7 separate regions of the Homo sapiens genome follow, and all the other regions are linked to region 5. The links are contacts of gene promoters, found by promoter capture Hi-C in blood cells and fetal thymus (Javierre and others, 2016). All regions are on one chromosome and are shown on one strand. The core of a region is centred on a gene start or on the middle of the fragment in contact, and the rest is flanking DNA. Distances in the headings are between cores, read along the strand shown. Region 1 has its middle 5.2 kb from the start of KRT4. Region 2 has its middle 4.0 kb from the start of KRT8. Region 3 has its middle 4.2 kb from the start of KRT76. Region 4 has its middle 7.4 kb from the start of MIR9898. Region 5 holds the start of KRT82 (keratin 82). Region 6 has its middle 3.4 kb from the start of KRT3. Region 7 has its middle 6.6 kb from the start of KRT77.

Region 1 (3,300 bases), core at 440-2,939, 410 kb after region 5:
CTTGGAACTACTGTTATATGCTGAACACTAGGTGCTTCTTCCAACAACCCAGTCAAAGAGGTGCTTTGCTATGTCCAGTTTGGAGCTGCAGATATTGAGGCTCAGAGGGGTATGTAACTTGCCTGAGATCACACAGCCAGGAAGTGGTAGAGATAGGAAGTCAGTACTATCTGTCTGACTTCAAAGCTTGTGACCTTACAATGTATAAAACGGTAGGTATAATGTTTTATATGAGTGACTGGCCCACACAGAATATGCAGGGAAAAAAATACACAGCAACTTATACAGCCCTGTACCTCATGGTCCACCAAGACAGCCATGGGGTCTGGCCAGCAGGCTGCAAGCTCTGCAGATGCAGCTCCGCTCCTTTTTGTCCTTACCCTCAGCACATGGTCAGTTGCTTGGTTGATGTGGCCCTGTCCTTACAAGTACCCAATAAGGTATGACACTGTCCTGAGGGGCCAGTTTTGTATCCTCCAATTAACTAAATCCAAATTAATTTCATGACAAACCCTACCATAAACCCAATCCAAACAAGAAGAAAGTTCTAGTCTAGAGCCACATTCTGTGTCCTTATTATTAAATCAGAATTGCAAGAAGCTCACAAAATCTTCAAACTGAGCCTGAGAAACCGAAGGTAGACCTAAGGAAGAACTTCCTATGCAAGAGCGCCTTTACACCCTAGAGTGAGAGAGAAAGAGAGATGAGTTTCTTTCCCTGAAAACGGGGAAAGACATTGCCTTCATATGTGGGCCAGAGGCAGGTGGCTGAACAAGGCGCCACTACCCAGCAGCCACAGCTGGAAGCTTGTCCCCTGCCCCTCCCCAGACCTCCACACGCAGATTCTGCTACTGCCCTCGGTGACCCTTCCTTGTTTGGCAGCTGTTCCCAATCTTTTCACAGAGGGATGAGCAGCCGACAGGGGTGTGGAGCCAGGCGGAGGGAGTGTTTGCTCAGGGCTTTCTGGGTAAGGGAGGCAAGCCCTTACATTCAGCCCTGGGATTAAGGGATCCTGAGGGCTTCTGTCACTCTCATCTCCAAACCCACTGTGTGGTGTGGGAAAGTGCTCCTGCCCTCCCTGGCCAGGCGGGCACCCTCACTCCATTCGGTCACCCAACCTCAACTGCCCCACCGGGCCTGAGTCATTCTTGGGGAACCAGAGACAACACGGGGATCAGAGATTCTGCAGAAAAGGGCCATCAGCGTTTTAGGGAGAGGCCAGTGAGGGCAATGAGAGGACGGGCACTCCTGAGAGCCAGGTATGGGGGTCTGTACCCAGGGGCTCCTCTTTCCCCGGGCCGGAGAGCTGCCCCTGCTGGCCTCCTACCCCAGGCATATACAGGCAGGGGCTTCCCAGCATGTTCTGGCAGCAAAAGCACCCTCATAAACAAAATCACGTGCACAGCCTCATGAGTAAAACAGATAAGGAGAGATGATCCAGTTGGTGCAGAGGAGGGACCATGATCCTTCTCACCTGCTGACCTCCCCCTGCACCCCTGAAAGCAGCCCTTAGGGTCCTCAGTTTGGAAACCCCTGGGTCTGGGCCATTCCCCTCCTTCGACAAGTATGTCTAAGCAGCGCATTATTGTTGGTGGGCCCCCCTGGGCTGCAGTATAATCTCTGAGGCTTTTTTCCATGACAATCAAAAGTTTCTATTGTTCAGTTTTTGAGCCCTAAATATAATTTTTTTGAGACAGGGTCTCCCTCTGTCACCCAGGCTGGAGTGCAATGGTGCAATCACAGCTCACCGCAGCCTCAACAGCCTCAAGTGATCCTCCCACCTCAGCCTCCCAAGTAGCTGGGACTACAGGTATGCATTATCAAACCCAGCTAATTTTTGTATTTTTTTGTAGAGGCAGAGTCTCACCATGTTGCCAGGCTTGTCTTGAACTCCTGGGCTCAAGTGATCCACCTGCCTCAGCCTCCCAAAGTGCTGGAATTACAGGCAGGAGCCACAACACCTGGCCTATGATCTCACTAAAACTGATTTTTTTTTTAACACTGCCACTAAGTTACCGTGGCTTTGGATACATTCTTCCCCTTCCTCAACCTGTTTTCTTATCTATGAAATAAAAAGTTTGGAGTCGATTACATCCAATGCCCCTTCTAGCTCCAGCATCCCCAGGTCTCCATTCCTTTTTCTATATAAGCAAAATAACCTGGTGCTTAAGAGCTTGGGCTATGGAACCAGATTGCTTGGATTCCACACCTAGCTCTGCTACTTCCTAGCTGTGTGACCTTAGGCAAGTTACTTAACCACTCTGTGCCTTATTTTCCTTATAGGCAAAATTAGAATGATAATAGTATTTATATTATAGGCTGTTGTGAAGAGAATCAGTTAAAGGCTTGACAGCAGTTCTGGCACACAGTTGGCACTCAGTGAGCATTAGCAAGTATTCCTCAAAGTGTTGTACATGGGGTGGACTATACTCCATCTGTCTGAGAAGGGAAGCTAGAGACCACCCAAGCTGGTGAGGCAGAGCTGACCCTAAACCGCTAGGCCTTTGTGTTCCTAAGCTGGAGGTTAGGGTTTGGCTGAAAATCCCTCTGCTGGCCTTCCACAGCCCTGGAGGAAGCTTTCTCAGGGCTCTTCGGGGCTCCTCTGAGGAGGACAGAGTGATCAGGCCGGAAGAGTGTGGGATGCATCCCAGCAACTGCCAGGAGCCCTAAGGTTGCCAAGGAAGGGAGCGGAGTGGTGACAGCCTCGGGTCGGGCCAACTGGTTTGGTAGCAGGGTGGGGAGGGCCTGAGAGGTGCAGGGTTGAGAGGCCAGCCAATTGGGGAATCACTTGGGTACAGCTTGAGGAGTGGGGTCCAGACTCAAAGTAGAGAACTGTGGAGATGAAGAGGAAAGAAGGTGATACCAAGAGACGCATGGAGGGAGGAGCAGTAAGATTTGGCGAGTGATGGAGGCAGGAGTAGGACGGAGGTAGCTTCTGGGGTGACAGGACAGAGGGCTTGAAATTGCAGCCCTGGACACTACTGACCCACCTCCAGCCAGCTGGATGACTACAGCATGAGAGGTCACTTCTGTGAGCGTGAATCGCCTCACCTGTAAACTGGAACACCACATGCCCACTACTGAACCTAGGGCTGTGGTGATGGTCACAGGCAAAGTAATGTATGTGTAAACCACAAAACCCAATTAAGTGTGGATTTTTCTTGCCGACTGGATGTGGGGGCTGAGAGAGACATCACTGAGGCCAAGAGGATAAGCTGGGAATCCAGAAGTCAGGGAGTGGGAAAGCAAAGAAACCTGATTCCTGAAAGGGCCTCTATAAGCCAGATGCTTTACACATGT
Region 2 (3,516 bases), core at 702-3,201, 500 kb after region 5:
CAGACGGGTATGGCAGCCCTGGAAAGGGAGGACAGGCGCTCTCCCTATCTTCCCTCCCCCACGCTGCTGTTAGAGGGAGCAGGGGGCACTCAGGTCCTGATCTAGGCAGCACAAGGAGCAAAAAAACAGCACCCCAAAGCCTTTCCTGAAATTCCAGTCCCCTCCACCCCACCTTTCTGGTTCCCTGGTTCTAGGAGTGTCCCTTGTTTAAGGTGAGGACAGAGGGGGTTGCCAGGGACCCTGCAGTATGCAGGCTGGAGGGCTGACCCAGACCTTACCCAGCCAGGGGAAGCCCTTTTTTTCTGGGGCAGCCCAGAACCGTCTAGGGCCAGAAGTGTTTGTGTCTCATTTGTCATCTCTCTATTGCCCAGAGACCCCAGCCAAACCTTCCCCCAGATGCCCCAAGCACAGCCTCGGTGCAGGAGAAGAGGCCAGAGTTGGCCTCTCTGATGGCCCCTGCCTGGGACTTCAGGGTTAAAGGCAGAAGGAGAAGGCCCCTGGGACTAGGGCCAAGTGGTGAGGGAAGAGAGAACCAGACTGGAGCAGGCCCACAGGTACAACTCCTTGTAAGGCATTGTGGTCTACACACAGCTGCCTGCCGGACAAAAGGGAACAACGTGTTTGCGGTGCCTGCCCTACCCAGACAACTCTGCCTCAAACCGCCTTTCCTGGAGAGTGAACCAGGGAAGGAGGAGACACTCACTCCCTGTGGGCCAAGAGTGAGGGCCAGGCCCCCTACTTCTGATGGTGCAGGATAATTCAGAGAAGGCCCTGAGACCCTGAGCAGTGGCATTAAGTCTTGGGGCCAGTGGGGTGGGGAGGTAGCTGTTATCATCACTCATGATCATGGGAAGAGATGGTCTGAACAAGTTTTTTTTTTTCTTTTTTGAGACGGAGTCTCGCTCTGTCACCCAGACTGGAGTGCAGTGGCGCAATCTCGGCTCACTGCAAGCTCCGCCTCCCGGGATCTGAACAAGTTTTGCTTAGAGATCAGGACTGATGATCTCATTCGCTGCAACCTTGTTCATAATAGCCAAAGAGTGGGAACAAAACAAATGTCCACCAAATGACGAATGGATTTCTTTAATGTGGCATATCCATACGATCTAATGTTACAATTAAAAGGAATGAACTACTGATGCATGTTGGATGCAGATGAGCCTTGAAACCCGTATGCTCAGTGAAAGGAGACAGTCATAGAAGATCAGGTACCCTATGATTCCATTTATATGACATGTGCACAACAGGCAAAGCATAGAGACAGGAAGTAGATTAGTGGTTGCCTAGGGAGGGGAGGAATGGAGATGAATGCTAAAGAGCACAGGGTTTCTTTCTGGGGTGATGAGAATGTTCTAAATTTGATGGTGGTGGGCAGGCACAATGGCTCTACCTATAATCCCAGCACTTTGGGAGGTCGAGGCAGGAGGATTACTTTAGCCCAGGAGTTTGAGACCAGCTGAGCAACATAATGAGACCCCCGTCTCTACAAAAAATACAAAAATTAGCCAGGTATGGCGGCACACGCCTGTAGTCCCAGCTGCCCTGGAGGCTGAGTTGTGAGGATCACCTGAGCCCCGAAAGTTGAGGCCGCATGCATTGAGCCAAGACTGTGCCACTGCACTCTAGCCTGCGTGGGAGACAGAGTGAAACTCTGTCTCAAAAATAAATAAATAAATAAACAAATTTGATGATGGTGAAGCTGCACAAGTCTGTGAACATACTAAAAATCACTGAACTGCAAGCTTCAGATTGTTGAATTATATTGTATGTGAATTACAGCTCAACAAAGTTGTAACAAAAAGATAACCACAAAAGCATAAATGAGCTACATATAAAAAGCAGGGGCTTTGTGCCCAGCATAAGGGGTCAGGGGAAAGAAGCAAAGAGTTTGTTTAGATGCCCCAGGTAAAGAGGCTTCCTGCCTCTGGGTTAAGGCAATGCCCGAAAAGCACCCGAAATCCCTTTAAATGATGGAGCATTTTGAAATGTTATTATTGGTATAGAAATAGCTGCATTTAGCATAGAGACAGCAGAACAATTTGTTTAAATAGGAAGCCACAGGTGGTGGGTACACCCCTCAGGAAGCAGCATCATGAATAATAGAGTCAATTCGATTGCTAATTTTGTGTTATGTGCCTCAAGGCTAAAATTTTTCATTGTCAAAGCTTAGCAAATGCTGACTTTTTTGCTCTTGATCAGTGATGGATCTGATGATTAAAGCCAGCCAGGATGGAAATGGACTGCCTAGAGAGGGAGCAACCTCCTGTACCTGGAGACATGGAGAGGGACCTTGCTCACCAGCTGTCCACTGGCTCAGTGGGAGGGGGTTCTCACATCTGCTAGGGTTTGAATTAGAATGTCCAAGTCCCGCCAACTCTGAAAGCTTTTGATCCACATCCACCACCATAGAGCTTTACGCACTGAAGATGAAAATCTGTGAATGTTCTCTGGTTTGAAATTTTGCTTGTGATAAGAGATATGATTAGAAATTATTAGAACAAGAGTGAGGGAGGACAGCACAGCCTTGTTGTGGAGGAAGGAGACACAAGCCCAGCAGCCTGAAGATGTTGAGGTCTCCCACACTTTTTTTTCTTTTTTTTAGAGACAGGATCTCACTATGTTGCCCAGCCTGACTCGAACTCCTGGATGCAAGCAATCCTTCTGCCTCAGCCTCCCAAAGTACTAGGGTTACAGCGTGAGCCACTGCACACAGCCTTTCTCACATTTTCAACATTCTCTCACCCTCCTCTCCACTGATGCCAAACCAAGAAGGTCATCCCACTGGGTGAGCATGAAGCCTAGGCGGAAGGTCCCAGCTATGGCTCAGTCCACAGAGTCCTTCCCCTTAACTCTGGTTCTCCATCACATCAAGATCGCCCGTGGGAGATTATAACAGTATACGTGCTCAGGTCGCACCCCGTCTGCATTTTCAAAGCTTCCTCGGTACAGCCAGAGTCAGGCACCAGGCTTTAGCTCTGGTCCCAACACCAAGACCTTTAGGAACACACTTTCTTCCTCTTCCCAGAGGAAATAGGCCAGAGCTCAAATCCACAGCACTGCAGGTTCCTGCTTAGAAAGGGTGATATACTCTGTCCCTCAGGAAGGAAAACAGAGTGGTTCAGTCCCCAGAACCTGAAACTCCACCACCGTTGGCCAGGGCCACAGAGACAGAGACAGAGACTGCGAGAGGACAGACACAAATGGGTCCCACTCCTGACAGTGAAGACAGCGGTACTGGGGACTTGAGTGACAGGAAGTGGAAGTTATTGAGAGGATTTCAAGGAAACTTCAGAAGCTGACATTGCGATAGGGGAAGCCCTCATGGTGTTCAGGCAACCGGACAGGAGTGCAGGAAAAGAACAAACAGGAAGGACCTGGGGCTCCGCTATAGGCATCCTGCCCACCCCCACCCCAGCCCTGAGGATTCCCCTGGCCTGAGCTGCTTAGCACTGGAGCTGATATCCAGAGGCCCACTGTTTTGATTTTCCTGCTGGGCAACCTGAGGACTAAGGTGGG
Region 3 (3,443 bases), core at 594-3,093, 380 kb after region 5:
GAAGAGGATTTCATGTTGAGTTCTTCCATGAGACATTTATACTCCACCCATCAATTGAATGACAGCCCCTCCTGGTAAGGTCTTTCCTCATATCCTCTGGATCCTTTAAAAGCAGAAGATCACATGCTCTTCCTGGAAAGAAAGCTGAGCCAGGCTCAGCTGAAGCTCCAGGTGAGAGTCCGAAGCAAACAAGAACAGACATAAATGTCTCTGATTCCCTTCCCTCCCTTGGCTGCAGTACTGAGGTGGTGGGTGGCAGCCTCTGATGTGTGGCTCACCTCTGCCACCCTGGCCTAGGCTGGAGAAGCGTGGTGGAGAAAGGTGATGCACAGATCACAAAAGCGCGGGTTTGGGCTGGGTCGCCTAATCCATGTCGCATGAGCCTGCCAAAGCATCACCTTATTTAGCAGATGGGGATTGTCTTCTCAGCAGTTGAATGGAGCTGCTGGAAATACCCAGAGTTGCTATCCTCACCAACATTGCCCTCATTCACTGTAGGATCTTTCAGAACAGTATCTAAAGGGTCTGCCTACTGCCAGCAATCTGAGTTCCAATCCCTCACTGCCAGAACATTCTGTGTAAAGCTTGCCAGATGGCTGAGCACCCTGGATTTTTATTTCCCCACCTATAAAATTGGGGGCACTAAAACCAAGGAGTTATTCCCTCTAACCAAATTGCTCTCTGGTAGTCAACTGCAGTGAGAAGACTTCAGATTGCCTGTAACATAATTATGAGTGGAGGAATGCATCATGAGACAGTAGTCATTATCCTTGGCCAAAGTGAGCAGTCATCCCTCTCCACCACCATCTGCTGAGGATGAGGGAGCCATGGCTGCTGCCTCTTTCTCCATGGAGGTTCGCAGATCCCATTTTCAAGATAATCACCAATTTGTTCTCAAAAATAAAAAAAGAATAATTAACGTTCTGGGTATGCTGCCCCTGGACTAGGAATTAGCATTCTTTTCTTGTTGAAATAAAAGCTTGTCACTAGTGAAGCAATTTTAACCAATGAACAGTAAAAATAATTACCATATAGAGCAAGATTTATAGTGAAAGCTTGATAAAGAAGCAAACATCTAAGTACAACTAAGTCCTTATGTTACTAAGGTCTTAGCTGTTAGCAACCACAATTTGTTCTGATTCTGGTCTTATCTCTACACTTGATTAAAATACACACCAGCTCACCCCTCATTCTTTATCTGGTACTTGGATCTCTCCCAGGGCTTATGCAGGGCAGAATTCTATCTCCCAAGATGGCCCTGATTAAAAGGTTCTGTGATTACATAAATTTGGGAAATGAAAAATCTATAGCTCTTTCCTGGGATTTTAGTAAAGTTGTTTAGTATATTAAAAGCCCAAAGAAGTCCTATAGAAAATAATGTCTTTGCCTTAATTTAATCACAGCTTCCCAAATTTAACAACAAAATCTTTCTATCTTAACATCTACTAACATGCTGTCAAGTATACTCGGGAAACGCTAGTCCAACTAGCCATCCAGGATGGATGAGAATGTGCAGATAGACCAGTGCAGATAGACCAATCAGAGGATTAGGGCATAAGGAGACATCCTCATTCCTGGAGAAAGAGCACTTGCTCCAAGTGAGCTCCTCATCCCTGGAGAGAAAGCACTTGCTCCAAGTGAGATAGCAGGAAACTGAGAGCAGACTAAGGCCTGGGGTTGAAGATGCAGCAAGAAGGGCACTGGGACGCCGAAAACTGAACAGGTTCTCTAAAGACAAGCTCTCCTGTCAATGAATATTTCTCACCAATAAATGGATTTGGCTGAATATTTCCAAAAACCGTGGATATTTCATGGGCATGCTGGATTTTCTGGAACTCAAATAACTTCATCTCCTCCTCTCTTCCCTTGCAGCTTGAAAGAGTGGAAAATATGGAAGCCTTGGAATTAGACGAGCCTGTGTTCAGATCCCAGCCTTGCCACTTTCCAGTTGCATGGCATCAGGCAAGACATTTTACCCTCTGGACCTCAGTTTCCCATTCAGCAAATGGGAGTTAGCACAGCCTCCTCATAGAGTTGCAGTGGGGACTGTAGGAGGTAAAGTTGGAAAACCCTTACACAAAGCAGGTGCTCAACACTTGGCAGCCCTTGTGATGATGATGTCAATGTAGGAAGCCCTCCTAGAAGGTGTCAGTTTGGAAGCTGAAGAGGAAGGAGGAGTTCTAAGGGGTAGCCCAGTTTAGGGTCAAGGCAACAGTGAAGTCTTTGATTATTTTGCAACAAGTTGCAAAGAATCATACTGTCTGTATTGAGAATTACATAAAAGCCATTTTCCCATGTCTGGCCAAGCCATTTTCCCACTACAGGGCCTCGTCAGTAATGCAATCTATCAATCAGCAAATACTTATTGATCTACTACATACTTTTTAGAGGTGTGGGGACTATGTTTCAGTGAAAACAATTTCCTCTTTCAAATCTTAACTCCTATTGCCCATCTGTGAATAGAATTTTAAAACAGCTAACATTGACTGCCTAACATATACAAGTCACTGACAGGTTGTTTACATGTGTCATTTCTAATTGTCACAAAAACTTTGTAAGGTAGGAATTTTCATTCACATTTTACAGATAAGGGCATGAGGTTAATTAACTTGCCTCAAGTCAATTCACTTGCAAGCTTGGATTTTAATCAGACTGTCCAATCCCAAAGCCTGTCGTAAATTCGTGAATGCTTTTCTTCTGCATAGACTTTCAGCAAGTCAAATTACACCATCCCAAAGTGAAAAGTCCACTTTGACATGTAAAGAACCCACCAATATTCTCTCCACCTGACCACCACATGATAGGTTGGACACCAGCCATGTGCAACCTACCATGCTAGCCAGGGCCACCAAGGCACTGGTCAGGACAGTCTCTCAGGGACAGAACACATGGGTGTGCATGGAATTTATAGATGACAAGAGCCGCTCCATCATCTGCAATGTAAAAGGTCTTCACCCTGTTGGAGAAAGAGCAAGAGGCCAGGAGTTTGCGCTGAGCTTAGCTGCTTGCTGGGTCTTAGATGTTGGAGTTGACCACTTGGCCCACAGGAATGATTAGCCACAATCTTCTCTTTCACTTTTTTTTTTTTTTTTTTTTTTTGAGACGGAGTCTCACTCTGTTGCTCAGGCTGGAGTGCAGTGGCACAATCAAGGCTCACTGCAACCTCTGCCTCCCAGGTTCAGGAGATTCTCCTGCCTCAGCCTCCCGAGTAGCTGGGATTACAGGCGCCTGCCACCACACCCAGCTAATTTTTGAATGTTTAGTAGAGACGGGGTTTCACCATGTTGGTCAGGCTGGTCTTGAACTCCTGACCTCAGGTGCTCCACTCGCTTCGGCCTCCCAAAGTACTGGGATTACAGGCATGAGCCACCGTATTTTGTTTTTGCTCACCAAACAGGTAATCAAGATGCACCTTTAAATAATACATTTGTGTTGCATGTTAA
Region 4 (3,469 bases), core at 715-3,214, 490 kb after region 5:
CTGGCAACAAAGTGAGACTGTCTCAAAAAAAAAAAAAAAAAACTTATCAAACTCCCAAATTGTTTGGGCCAGGCTCGGTAGCTCACTCCTGTACTCTCAACACTTTGGGAGGCCAAGGTGAGTTGATCATGAGGTCAGGAGTTCAAGACCAGCCTGGCCAAAATAATGAAACCCCGTCTCTACTAAAAATACAAAACTTAGCCAGGCATGGTGGCATGTGCCTGTAGCCCCAGCTGCTCAGGAGGCTGAGGCAGGAGAATCGCTTGAACCCAGGAGGTGAAGGTTGCAGTGAGCCGAGATCATGCCATTGCACTCCAGCTTGGGCGACAGAGAGAGACTTTGTCTCAAAAAAATAAAAAAGATGGCTATCAATATGGAAATGGTTCATTCCTTTTTATTTGATAATTTTTATTGACCACCTACTATGTGCCTGGCACTCTGCTAAACACTGAAGAATCAGTGGAGAACCAAGCAGATATGGTGTGTCCCTGCCCTCATGGAGCTTACAGTGTATGGGGAAAGGCTGATATTAATAAAATACCTCTGCAGATGAATGAGTGACTGTAATTTACAAGGAGAAAATACAGGGTGCCTTGGGAACTTATCATAGAAACACGCCACTCAGTTTGTGGTGTCTAGAAGACTTTCTTGTCTTGTGGTGTCATAAAACTTTTTGTCTTGTCTTGTGGTGTCAGAAGACTTTCTTGGGGAAGCTGCGTTTGAGCGGAAAGCTTGGGAGTGACTAGGAAAGGCAGGGTGTTCCAAGCAGGGGGCCAGCCATGCAATGCCCTGAGCAGAAGCAAATTCCATGTAGGCTATGCCCTGAAAAGCCTGCACCACTGCATCAGAGAGCAAGGGACAGAGTGGCCAGGATGAGGCCTCAGAGGAGGAAGAGTAGGCACAGCCTGTGGGCCAAGTCAAGATTTAGGGCTTTATTCTGGGTGTCAAAAGTAAAGGGTTTTCCCATCATTCTGAGCAAACTATTGCAAGGGCAGAAAACCAAACACCGCATGTTCTCACTCATAGGTGGGAATTGAACAATGAGAACACTTAGACACAGGGTGGGGAACATCACACACCAGGGCCTGTCGTGGGGTGGGGGTAGAGGGGAGGGATAGCATTAGGAGATATACCTAATGTAAATGAAGAGTTAACGAGTTAACGGGTGCAGCACACCAACATGGCACATGTATACATATGTAACAAACCTGCATGTTGTGCACATGTACCCTAGAACTTAAAGTATAATAAAAAATAAAGAAAGAAAAGAAAAAAATAAAATAAAAATAAAGGGTTTTCCATATAAGGAAGTAACTGAATCTGATTCATATTTTTGAGAATGCACTCTGATTTTGGGGGCAGTGAACTATTCTGTATGGTACTGTAATGGTGGCTACATGGCCCCCACAGAATGTCCACACTAAGAGTTAACTCTAATGTGAACTATGGACTGTGGGTAATAATGATGTGTCAATGTAGGTTCATCAATCGTAACAAATGTATCCCTCTGAGGTGGGATGTTGATGATGTTGTAACAAATGTAGCCCTCTGGTGTGGGATGCAGGTGTAGGGGCAGAATGTGTATGAGAACCCTCTACCTCCTGCTCGATTTTGCTATGAACCTAAAATTGCTCTTTTTTTCTTTTTTTTTTTTTTTTTTTTTTTTGAGACGGAGTCTTTCTCTGTCGCCCAGGCTGGAGTGCAGTGGCATGATCTCAGTTCACTGCAAGCTCTGCCTCCTGGGTTCACACCATTCTCCTGCCTCAGCCTCTCGAGTAGCTGGGACTACAGGCGCCTGCCACCACACCCAGATAATTTTTTTGTATTTTTTAGTAGAGACGGGGTTTCACCATGTTAGCCAGGATGGTCTCGATCTCCTGACCTCGTGATCCACCCGCCTCAGCCTCCCAAAGTGCTGGGATTACAGGCATGAGCCACAGCGCCTAGCTAAAACTGTTCTTAAAAAATAAGTCTACTAAAAAAAAGTGCACTCTGGCAAGGGGCCCAAGTGAACCTTCTGTGATATAGGAAATGTTCTACATTACAGGTGTGAACATAAGTTAAAACTCATCAGGCGCCGGGCACGGTGGCTCACGCCTGTAATCCCAGCACTTTGGGAGGCTGAGGCGGGTGGATCACCTGAGGTCGGGAGTTGCCTGACCAACACGGAGAAACCCCGTCTCTACTAAAAATACAAAATTAGCCCGGCGTGGTGGCGCATGCCTGTAGTCCCAGCTACTCAGGAGGCTGAGGCGGGAGAATCGCTTGAACCTGGGCAGCGGAGGTTGCAGTGAGCCGAGATCGTGCCATTGCACTTCAGCCTGGGCAACAAGAGTGAAACTCCATCTCAAAAAAAATAAATAAAAATAAAAATAAAAAAACTCATCAGGTTGTACATTCCCCATTAAAGCACATTTTGCATTTTATTGTATGTACAATATGCCTCAGCAAGGAGGAAACAAAGGGACTTGTGATTGGCCAAGGCTGGCCCATTGTGAACCCTGTGTGCCTGGACAGAGGTCCTGTGATCTTAGGAGGAACAGTTCCTGAAAAGAAGTGGGGCGTGGCAGGAGTGGAGGTGGGGGAGCTTTGCATTACTAGAAGAAGGGGGAAGGGGTCCTGGCTAGACAAAGCAACTATGCCCACCACAATGTGTAAAAGGGCAGCGCGGAGAGTGAACTAGGGGGCCACCCACCATGCTGGTATCCTTCCCTGCCTTCCTTTCCTTGCAGTGGTGCTTCCTCTTCCTTTCCCAACAGGTAGAATCTATGATATATAATTACGTAGGGACATGCATGCACACATTTCTATCTATCCTTCATGAAGGGTATGTACTGTCCGCATTGTCACATGCCTTGCTTTAACATTCACTCCTCCATTCCCACCACCTTACACTCCAGTCAGCCTGGCCCTCGGTCCTTAGCCCACCTTCAGATCCCCCTACTACAGGGGAGCTCCTAGACCACCTTAGCCCAGATCAGCGGGCAGGCAGAGCAAAACCTTGGAATTAAAATATCTTCAGAAGAGTCCACAAATGCTTGGAAGACTCATCATTTTAATCCTGGGTGGTTGGGTCGGGAAAGGCAGGGTGGAGGGAAGTGGGGGATAATGGCTGGCTCATCTGGAATAGTCAAACAGGAACCTTCTTCTACACATGTAAATTTTCTAAAAAACTAAAATTCAGTCCCATAGGAAATCAAGCTTTAAAAACAAAAAGTCTACTAAAATTTAAATGTGCACACATTTTGCTTCAGCAATTCCACTTGTAGGAATTATTAAGATATCCTCACCATTGTCATAGCAAATACCAATAGAGGACTGGTTAAGTAAATTGTGGCACATCCCAAAGTGGAATATTATGCAGCTGTGAAAAAGAGTGGAGAAGCAACTTGTATACTGATATGGAAGGAACAGGTATTGGGTGAATGTTAAAGCAAGGCATGTGACAACACATATAGTACAATACCCT
Region 5 (3,386 bases), core at 439-2,938:
ATCATTGCCCTACTTCTGGTCAGTGGCTGCATCAACAGGAGGCTCCCAGCCTAACAGAAGGTGGTGTGATGTTGTTGCTAATTCGGGCCCATGTTTTTGGAATAAGTTTATAGCCAGAACTTAATAAGCTTTAGAAATAAAACTGTAAGTTTGACTAAACAAGTTCCTCTGTGAAGCACTTTGGCATATATTACCTCCTCTAATCTCCCACCGTCATTCCTCCCCTTCCTCACTGGGCAGCACCGTCCAAAGGCCAAGAGGTGAATGGCTTGCCCGGGGATTCCGGGTGTAGGAGTAGAGTCAATGCCAGTGGCCAGGGCTCCTGACCTCTGGCCCAGGACTCTTGCCCCTAAACCTTACGGTCACCAGAAACACCAGCTCAAACTGTGGAATGAATCCTCACCCCAAGAGCCTCCCTGGGGCGTGGGATGGACCCAGAGGCTGTTGAGTCCTTCAGCACCTTCAGAAGGCATGCCACATCTTTTCCTGCAGTGGGTGCTGTACTGTAGATGTGGGAATCTGCGCTCTTCCTGCAGTGGGTGCTATACTGTAGATGTGGGAATCTGCACTGTTCCTGCAGTGGGTGCTGTGCTGTAGATGTGGGAATCTGCACTGTTCCTGCAGTGGGTGCAGATTCAGTTCAGCACCTTCTGAAGGCATGCCTTCCTAGCAGCCTTTCAGTGGCTCTGGAGATGACAGATGTAAGACTTTTGTGACCGTCACCCTGTGCCTCTAGCTCTGACTGTCCACTTTCCTCTCATCCCAGGCCTAAAATGATTGGAAACTCTGAGGTCACAGTGTCCATCCTCACCTTCAGGCTCAAGAGTTGTGACACAGCTCAGGCACACAGAAGGCGGTTCTACTGTTAAAGCCTCATCAGGAAGGGCATTTCTCTGCCTCTCTGGTCATTCCTTTCAGTATTGCTTTGGAAGTTCCTCTTATAGTCTGACCTCAGGCAACCTTGGTGATTGGTGATTTTGTCAGATAATATTCAGAGAAAGATGATATATTTTAAGAAAGACAAGGAAGCAGAAATGTTTAGTGCAGAATCTGATCTAACTGGCTTTCAAAGGCTGGTGGTCGTGGAATGTGAGGGAGGCCACTGGATAAACTGAGGCCTCCTCAATGTCAGTCTCCTCCTGGTTCCCTTGGACCAGAACAAGACCAGACCCCAGATCTGCAGTGGGTCCTCTCACGGCCCTGGGCCACTGCCCCCTTACCTTGTTGATGAAAGATGCGAAACGGTTGTTGAGGCACTTGATCTGCTCCTTCTCATCCCTCTTTACCCTCTGCACAGTCGGGTCTATCTCCAGTGCCAGTGGGACCAGCAGGCTCTCATTGATGGTGACAGGGGTGATGCAGGCAGAAGGCCCACAGGTGGCTCCCAGTCGGTACCCGAAGCCAGGCAGGGTACCTCCACACCTGGAGGCTACCCGGGGCCTCCCAAAGCCCACGTTGCACAGGCTCCGTGAGCCAAGGCAGCCCAGAGCTCGGAGGCCCCTACCACCCCCGGGCCGGCATGGCCCCTTGCTCACTGCATAGTGGGTGACCATCCGGGGCATGACAGCCGAGTATGAGCTGAAACTCTGACTGCCACACCTGGAGCCTGGCTGGAAAGAGTGGTACGACATGGCAGGAGAGAGAGGCAGAGAAATGCGGCCCTGGAGGAAAGAACCGGGGCAGGATGATCAAGTCAGGCTCAGCTTCCCCCCTTTTATCTGGTAGGGGGATGGAGGACTGAGATGTGTCAAACCCCAAATCACCATTAAACTAGGTTTATGAGCTTGGGATATTGGCAGAGCTAAGTAGCAAGGTGGATAATTAGGGTAGCGAAGAGCAAAGAGAAGGGGCCAATGGTCAGTGCTGGTGGGCCCTATAAAAATCCTATTTGTCCTCCTTCCTTGATTGTGGGGGTGATGAAAGGGGCCAACCAGACAGATATGTTCCATGTATCCAGTGGCTCAGCCTCAAGGAAAGGGAGAGTTGGGACTACGTCATTTCATAGGAGGGGAGGCGTGCCATGAATTATACACCCTGGCTTCTCTGGGATTAGAGGGCAAGTCCCATATGCTTAAAGATGCTCTGGCTCTTTCCCCAAGGCTGCTCCTAGGCTTTTTTGCAGATCCTCAACCCAAGTGCCCTCTGTGGGCTCCTAGGTGAGTCAGGAAGTTCCCAGGAGGAAGGCTTTTGGGGTGGGAGAATCCTCCCTACAACAGGCCGGACCTTAACCCTCCTGAGCTCTGGCTCAGTGACCCACTGTCCCATGAGGGTCTTGAAGGTAGACAGACTCCAGGCATAGACACTTTTCTACAGGGCCCATCAGTCCACAAAGGCTGCAGGGAACTCAAGAGGAGAGGCCTGGTGCTTGAGAAGGGCAGAGGAAGGGACGCTCTCCTCAACACTTCTGGGGCCCCCAGAAGGCATGATTTCAGCATCAGGTCTCGGCTTCCATGTGGCTGTTCCTTTCCCCTTTTGCCCAACCCAGCCTGAGTGTCCCTGAGGTCAACAGAGCCAGCTTTGGCCTGAGGATGTCTCTGGGGAGAGTTGTTGCCCTTGGGAATTTTCAGGTGGAGGTGGGATTCAGGTTTTCTTTCCAGCTCAGGTCGCAGACACAGCTCTTTGGAGATGTCTGAAGCCCCCGCCTCACTCTCTTTCCTCCTCTTTTCCATCAATTTCATCAGTGAAACTTTTGCCATGGCCGAATGGCCTTTCCCTTCCACACTGAGACTTATCACCAGGTCAAAATCAAACCAATAATAATAATAATAACAATAATAAACATTTATTGGGCATTTATTGTGTGTTGGGACCACTCCGTACTCTTTACATCCATGGTCTCATTTAATTCTCTGACCACACAATGAGATAGTTACTATGCCACAGACAGGAAAATGGGAAGCACAGCAGTTAAGAGCAACATCCCCAAGTCACACAGCTTGTGGCTGATCAGCTGGGAGTCCATCCTGTTCCTTTTGACTTCACCCTGCCATGCTGCTCCACAGCAGGGAAGCCCAGGTGAGGAATTGGGAATCTGCTGCCCATAAATGTTCTGTTGTCCCTGTCCGTCAGCCTTCCAACCTGTGGATTAGGAGACTGGAACTCAAAGGTTTCCTGAGCCTCAGAAATTCTCAGTCTCATTGTGACATTTCACACTCCCTGTCCCCTTTTTCATAGTCCTGACTGTGGGCCCCAGAGTAGTGGAGGAGGAGGGGTGCAAGGCGAGACCACAGGCCACAATGGGAGGCAGAAGGTTGGGTGAGGGGGTCCAATTGCAGGGTGTCAGGGGAAGAAGACCACACTCTTCCCTGGACTGAGTCCACAGAGGGGGCCCAGGATGGTGTGAATGTTGATGGAGACACTCAGAGGCCCCACCAGAGAGCAGATTC
Region 6 (3,433 bases), core at 625-3,124, 390 kb after region 5:
TAAAACTGGTTGAAAGCTAGTTCAACTCCCATTGCATGAGGTAGCACAAGCTAATTGAGATTATTTCAATGTGAGGAATCCAGACTTCTCAAATTTGGTGTTCAGATTTAGAAAAATTTACATGCAAAATGAGTGTCACCTCCTCAGGGGAAAAAAATGTAGAATCACAGAATCAAGAACTAATCAATCAAGAATCAATCAATTACAGAATCAAGTTGAAGTTGACTGGACATTTGAGGTCACACAATCTGCCCCGTTCATTGCTGGGATCCCCTCTCCAGCATCTCTGACTTATATCCCTAATTTTCTGCAAGTTCTGCCCATGGACTGTGAAGTTAGCCCAGGCCTAGAGTGTGGCCACACAGGCTCCTCTCCTCTTTGCTCCCTCAAAGGCAATGAACCAAACCCAGGGCTAGACCAGATCCTCCCCATGACTAAGCATGACCAAAGCTATTTAAATTCTCTGCATTTCAGCATCATTAACCATAAAAGATGATCAATCATCTCTGACCCTCTAGATCTCACAGGAACATAGCTAGATGAATGAAATATCTGCCAGTGTTTTAAGAAACATATCACAAGGCCAAATGTGGTGGCTCACGCCTGTAACCCCAATACTTTGCAAGGCTGAGGTGGGCAGATTGCTTGAGCCCAGGAGTTTCAGACCAGCCTTGGAAACATGGCAAAACACCATCTCTATGAAAAAAATACAAAGATTAGCCGGGTGTGGTGTCATGTGCCTGTAGACCCAGGTGCTTGGGAGGCTAAGGTCGGAGGATCACTTGATCCTGGGAGGTCAAGGCTGCACTGAGCTATGATTGCACCATGGCACTCCAGCCTGGACAACAGAACAAGACCCTTCTCAACAAAAGAAAAAGAAAAAAGGAAACATATCACAAAAATTAGACCATATTTTTCCTTATAATATCTAAGAGAGCAGGATGGAGGACCTGCCTTTATGCCAGACAGAAATGAGGCTGCTGCTTGGTCTGGTGTGGGGTCTAGAGTCCAGGGCAATGAGTCTCTAGGAATTCCTAAACCCATAGTGATTCAGGGTACTTAGTGCCCCAATGGGGGGAGATCTTAGTCATTGCCAGAGCCCACTGATTCTGAGCCATGCTTGTCATTCCTTTAGAGGGAATTATCTTGGAGAAGAATCTTTGAGAAGCAACATCACAACCACTGCTGTCATCAGCTAGTCCTGGGTCGGGGACCTCCCCAGCAGATGGTGGAAGAAAAAGGAAGAAGGGCATAATCTATACTTACTCTTGGGGTTGGGATAGCAGAGAAGACATGGCTTGACCTTTGAGAGGACAGGGAGCAAAACAAAGATTGGGGAATACATTCGTGGGACTAGATTGTCAATTCTGATCAGAGCTGTGAGTGAAGGAAGTGGTGGAAGGGGAGGAGATAATCAGTGAGTTGAAATTCTTATTGGTTGGGCCCATCCCTCTAAACTTGTAGGGCCTAATAAACACTTTGAGAAAACAGAGTTGGTTTACAGTCATCCCCAACACTTGAATTATCTGAAGTTTATTAACTAAGCGCCCTAAGTGTTTACTCCCTGGAGAAAAGAGTGAGTCACTGGATTGCAATGTGTAAAATCGAGACTCATAGGGTGCTACGGCCAGGAGGCTCTCCAGTCCACTCCTCTACCTCGAGGCAGAATTCACCTGGCCACTCCTACTCTTCAGGATCCCCATGGAAGGCGATTCATCAAATCTCCTAACTTGCCCAGGCCAGCAAGACCCCACCCTGACCCAAGGAAGGTCTTCAAGGATCTAGCTTTCGTGCCTTCCACTCCATTTCATGGGAGCCTAACTCCTCTTAAAGGATCAGTGAAGTTGTGGTCAGCAGCAGGAGGCCCAGTCACCTGTCCGTCATGGCATGGCACCCATACCTCTCTGCTTGTGAAGGCCCCTTTTAACACACAAAAAATTACATTGACCTTCACACATGTCAGAACTCATACTTCCAGTATCCTTTGAGAATATACATTTTTTACTATGAATTTAGCAACACTTTTAAATAAAAGTGCAGTTCATAGTCATATACATTTGAAAGTGGTAATACATATACATAAAAAGACACATTATTCACTCAGTCGAGAGACACTTGCATCCATGTGCATTCTCAGAATCCTTGCAGTCCTGACACAACAGCAACCCTAACTGGGGCCTCTCAGCCTCAGGTCTCAAGGTCCTGCCCCTTCCACGGCTGGACACCTGCCCCCAGCTGAGATTCCCCACTGAGCACTGTTACCACCTGTCTTCCCTGCCTTTGTGTCCATCAGCCTGTGGCCCTGGCAGGCCTTCAGCAGATGGGAACTGAGTTGCGATGAATTTGCTCTTGCCTGGCCTTCCATAGTAAAACACACACACTCCCCTGGTTTCTGTATCACAACCCTTCCAATATTAGAAAATACTGTGGAATTCACAGACACCAACCTCCCAGTTAGATAGACCCAGTTGTTTCTCCCAGTCCTCAGTACAGATGGTTTCCGGGAATCTTCTCTGCACCCACTTTAATATGTTAATGGACCTCTTAAAACTACAGTGCCTTGCTAAGATAGGATACTTAAGGTGGCTTCATGTGCACCAGAACTAATAAGAAGCCCCTTCCTGTCTGTGATGGGGGCACTGTGCTTCTTTCAATGCAAGCTAAGATTCTGTTCCCTTCTTTAGCTCTTGACTTCCATCAATCCTGCCTGGGGAGGAGGAATGGTAAGGCATGGGTTTGTTGGTGGTGGGGGCAGGGGGTTGTTTTTGTTTTTTTGTTTTTGTTTTGAGAGAGAGAGAGAGAGCCCCTCACTCTGTTGCTGAGGCTGGAGTGCAGTGGTGCAATCTCAGCTCACTGCAACCTCAACCTCCCAGGCTCAAGCCATCCTCCCACCTCAGCCTCCCAAGTAGCTGGGACACTGGCATGCACCACCATGCCCAGCTAACACTTTTTTTATTTTTTTTGTAGAGACAGAGTCTCTCTATGTAACCCAGGTTGGTCTTGAACTCCTAGGCTCAAGCAATCCGCCCACTTCAGCCTCCCAAAGTGCTGGGATTATAAACATGGGCCACCATGCCAGCCAGCTTCCTAGTTTTAAATAACTCACTTCCTTGTCCTGCTGTAAGAATAAACTGAAGGGACAGCATTCACAAAGCACTTACAGAGAAAATAAACATAACAGTAAAAATGAAAAAAAAAAAAGGTTTGCCCTGAATAAGCCTCTATTTACATAAGATTCCTCTGCATGGATAAGAGCTGTCCATTTATATTTGTGCTGAATCATGTCTGGCTGGCATGCCTGCTCAAACCAGAGGCTTGTACACAGCAGAAATCACAACCTTGTCCTCGCTGGAGAATTCCCAAGAGATCTTAGGAAGTTATTAAACAGTTGTCTTCAAACAAAAGATAGGCCGGGCGTGGTGGCTCAGGCCTG
Region 7 (3,154 bases), core at 65-2,564, 300 kb after region 5:
GGTCTGGGGCTATGGTCTGGACTTTAGAATTTTTAAAAGGTGGTTTTAATGTGCAGCAAGTTTGGAGACCACTGACCTGGAGGAAACAGGACAAATGAAACAGCCTCTTTAGATTCCATTCAGTCTAAGGACACAGATAGGAGTAACAATCATTATCATAATAGTGAACTTCACCAGGTGATTTCCATGGACCATGCACTGTGCTGTCTATAACATGGAAGGTCTCGTGAAATCTAAATACCAACATCATAAGGAAGATATTCTTACTATGTTCATTTTGCAAATGGAGAAAGTGAGACTTGGAAAGAGAATCTTGTCAAAGAATACACTAATGAAAATAGTGGAATGGAGATTTGAACCCGCGCATTCCCACTTCAGAACCTACATGTATTGCAGAAGAGATGGGGTCGTTGGAGAGAGATGTGCCCGCTTCCTCCTCTCCCCACCTGCCACCTTAAAAGGAAAGTGGGAAGTTAGTTGAAGGCTGCAGCTCACCCAGCCCATCTCCCAGTTACTGAAACCCAGGGCTGCCAAGAAGGTGAGGCCCAGAGCAACTATCAGCCACCTGGATCACAGTTCCAGACAGCAGCGGGAAGCAGGGTTCAGAAGAGCTGCTGGCATGACCAGCAGGAGCAGCTCCCAAAGCTCTATCCCCCACCTCACCCTACATTTCCCAGGGTCTGGAGGTGGATATCACAGAGGTGTGTCAGGGGCGTGGGGCTGGAAAAAGGAAGGGAGAGAGACTCTCACTCACCAGTCCCCACCAAGAAGAGAGTGGAGAGCTGCAGCCCCGGTCTAGGAATGGGGGCCTTTAACCTCCTTGAAATGAGAGCCTTTTGACCTGTCGTCAGCACAGGGGAGGCAGTGATGTGACACATATCGGAGAGAAACCTATTGGAGCTGAATAGAAGCTGCTAGACTTGGCTTCCCCACCCTTGGCCCACTCTTCTTCCTGCGTAACAGCATCACAGCCAAACATATGATGGACGGTATCAGCCCAGTCCTTCATTTTACAAGGAAGAAATGGGTACAAAGACAGGGACTTGGCCAAAGTTACCCAAAAAAGTTGGTGGTGCAGATAGAATGAGAACTTGGCTACCCTCCCCCGAATTCAGAAAGAATAAGGAGGCCTATGTGAAATTCCCAGGTGCCTCTGTGCTCCTGCAGCCTGGGAGAGATGACTATATGGGGCGTTCCACCTTCAATCTCTAACAAGCCTGCACGCAGGCATGAGAAGGTGGTGCCAGGCACACAGGAACATCCCTGGTGAATCCTCTGATTTCTGGGTTGGGGTGTGTGTTTGGGGCAACACCTAGGGCCTTAAGCTCCTACTGAGGCCCAAAACTAGCCTGGACACCACTTTGACATCCCTTTAACTAGAATCTCAGTGTCTGCCTAGAGCATAAGAATCGGGCAGTCTCCTTCCTTCTCGGCAAACCCAATAGGTGCTTTTGGGCCTGGATATTGTCTAGAGGCCTCACTAAGGGCAGCTTGCAAATTCCCACGGCAAAGGTCCAGAGACAATATTGTGCCAAGCGTGTCAAAGCTCTTCCATCCAACATACTGGAAGTCATGACTATTTATACAATCATTTATTTATTTATTTATACAACCATTTATTTGTTTATAATTCACCCAGGCTGAAATGCTCACTGCAACCTCCACCTCCCGGGTTCAAGTGATTCTTGTGCCTCAGCCTGGCAACTCTTTTGTCTCTGAAGCAAAGGGAGCAGCTAGGCAGGTGTGGCCCCAAAGGAAAATAAGGCTACAGGTTAGACTTGGATTGAATTCCAAAAGAAACAGTGAGGTCCCAGCGGAGGAATGGTGCTGTCTGGGCAGAGAATGCTTCTATATGTTGGATCAAAGAGGACGGGCCAGTCTCAAGGTTACAGGGGTAGTTAGTGGTGGGGTGGGACCAGCATTCCAAGTCCCTGAGGGTAATATGAGACCTGCCATCAATTCCAGGTTCGTGTCTCACTTGACCATGATGGGAGAGATTACAGTGCTTTATAACCATAAGGAATTTGCAGTGTATTATTCTCTTCATTTAAAGAATAGACAGGTTCCTGAAACACTGGCCATAATTAGTAATGACCTTTTATTGAGCTCTTACAATGTGCCAAGAATTAAACAGATGACATGATTCCATCCACACAACTGCATTTTACTGATGACTTTTGGGTGAGGGGTCTGGAGGGTGGCTCAAGGTCACACACTCCTGGTAAGGAGTGGGCCCAGATTACACCTAGCAGCTGGGTTCCAAAGCCTGAGAGTTTCTTGCTGTACTATCTTATCTTCTGCTTTATGGGGCAATTTAGGAGGGCTTTGAGGTTAGGCCTTCTGGAGTTTGAATCCTGGTGCCATCCCTTCTAGTTACATGACCTTGGATAAGTTCATTCATCTCTCTGCGCTTTCATTTCCTCTTTTGTGAAGCAGAGGCCATAACACTGCCTACCTCACAGGGCTGTGAAGATTAGATGGGTTAATTCAGAAAAAGCTCAGCACATGTCAGGCAAATAACAAGAGATCATCTACTTTAGCAATTATTACATTATTACAAAAGTAAATTTCTATTAACCAAACTGCATTTTCCATCCAGCTTCCCTTAAATTAGAAAGTCACCATAAGCAGGAAACTGTGGCCCTGTAATATATTGTAAATCATATAAAAGATGCAGACAAGCTTTTCTTTAATCATCTATTTAAAGGAAGATGGCAATTTATTGATGAGTTTGAAACAAGCCAAAAGTATCTCCTCTGTCATTAAGCTAAAGGGCAATCTCTCCAAGCTGCATTCACTGCTTAGGAGGCACATGTGGGTTTGCTTTTTCTTGTTCATTTAGAGAATTTGTTCACCATAGAGAAAATTTCATAATAACTGAAATTTTGTACCCTTTAAGCAACATCTCCCCATTTCTCCCACCCCTACTTCCAACTCCTGGCAACCACCCTTCAACTCCATTTCTATGAGTTTGACTGTCTTAGATTACACATATAGTGAGATTCTAAGGTATTTGTCTTTTTTTTTTTTTTTTTTTTTTTGAGACAGGGCAGGGTTTGGCTCTGTCGCCCAGGCTGAAATATTCACTGCAACCTCCACCTCCCGGGTTCGAGAGATTCTCATGCCTCAACCTCCCAAGTAGCTGGGATCACAG

Evidence for each region. Contacts are between HindIII fragments. The CHiCAGO score rates a contact against its expected background, and 5 or more counts as called.
Region 1: a fragment that was not itself captured here is called in contact with the fragment with the promoter of KRT82 in region 5 in 1 of 17 cell types (endothelial precursors); the score reaches 6.6 in endothelial precursors.
Region 2: a fragment that was not itself captured here is called in contact with the fragment with the promoter of KRT82 in region 5 in 1 of 17 cell types (erythroblasts); the score reaches 7.3 in erythroblasts.
Region 3: a fragment that was not itself captured here is called in contact with the fragment with the promoter of KRT82 in region 5 in 1 of 17 cell types (endothelial precursors); the score reaches 6.5 in endothelial precursors.
Region 4: a fragment that was not itself captured here is called in contact with the fragment with the promoter of KRT82 in region 5 in 10 of 17 cell types (M2 macrophages, M1 macrophages, erythroblasts and 7 more); the score reaches 10.5 in M2 macrophages.
Region 6: a contact is called between a fragment that was not itself captured here and the fragment with the promoter of KRT82 in region 5, in 2 of 17 cell types (endothelial precursors and total CD4 T cells). The highest score is 5.8, in endothelial precursors.
Region 7: a fragment that was not itself captured here is called in contact with the fragment with the promoter of KRT82 in region 5 in 1 of 17 cell types (endothelial precursors); the score reaches 7.4 in endothelial precursors.

Annotation. Positions count from the first base shown.
Region 1 is chr12:52,817,690-52,820,989 of GRCh38, forward strand. No RefSeq gene overlaps it. Among named protein-coding and RNA genes, the nearest start is that of KRT4, 5.2 kb to the left of the region's middle. RefSeq lists an enhancer at 530-1,031. The HindIII fragment of the contact is 1,770 bases long and covers 805-2,574 here.
Region 2 is chr12:52,907,356-52,910,871 of GRCh38, forward strand. It overlaps a transcript of KRT8 not described here. Among named protein-coding and RNA genes, the nearest start is that of KRT8, 4.0 kb to the left of the region's middle. The HindIII fragment of the contact is 423 bases long and covers 1,741-2,163 here.
Region 3 is chr12:52,779,845-52,783,287 of GRCh38, forward strand. No RefSeq gene overlaps it. Among named protein-coding and RNA genes, the nearest start is that of KRT76, 4.2 kb to the left of the region's middle. The HindIII fragment of the contact is 1,580 bases long and covers 1,054-2,633 here.
Region 4 is chr12:52,889,800-52,893,268 of GRCh38, forward strand. No RefSeq gene overlaps it. Among named protein-coding and RNA genes, the nearest start is that of MIR9898, 7.4 kb to the right of the region's middle. The HindIII fragment of the contact is 2,470 bases long and covers 730-3,199 here.
Region 5 is chr12:52,404,647-52,408,032 of GRCh38, forward strand. KRT82 (keratin 82) reads right to left here and starts at 1,689. Exons shown (of 9, transcript NM_033033.4): 1 at 1,221-1,689. The coding sequence starts at 1,631. The HindIII fragment of the contact is 6,676 bases long and covers 127-3,386 here.
Region 6 is chr12:52,797,752-52,801,184 of GRCh38, forward strand. No RefSeq gene overlaps it. Among named protein-coding and RNA genes, the nearest start is that of KRT3, 3.4 kb to the left of the region's middle. The HindIII fragment of the contact is 5,805 bases long and covers 1-3,433 here.
Region 7 is chr12:52,708,554-52,711,707 of GRCh38, forward strand. No RefSeq gene overlaps it. Among named protein-coding and RNA genes, the nearest start is that of KRT77, 6.6 kb to the left of the region's middle. The HindIII fragment of the contact is 2,732 bases long and covers 1-2,680 here.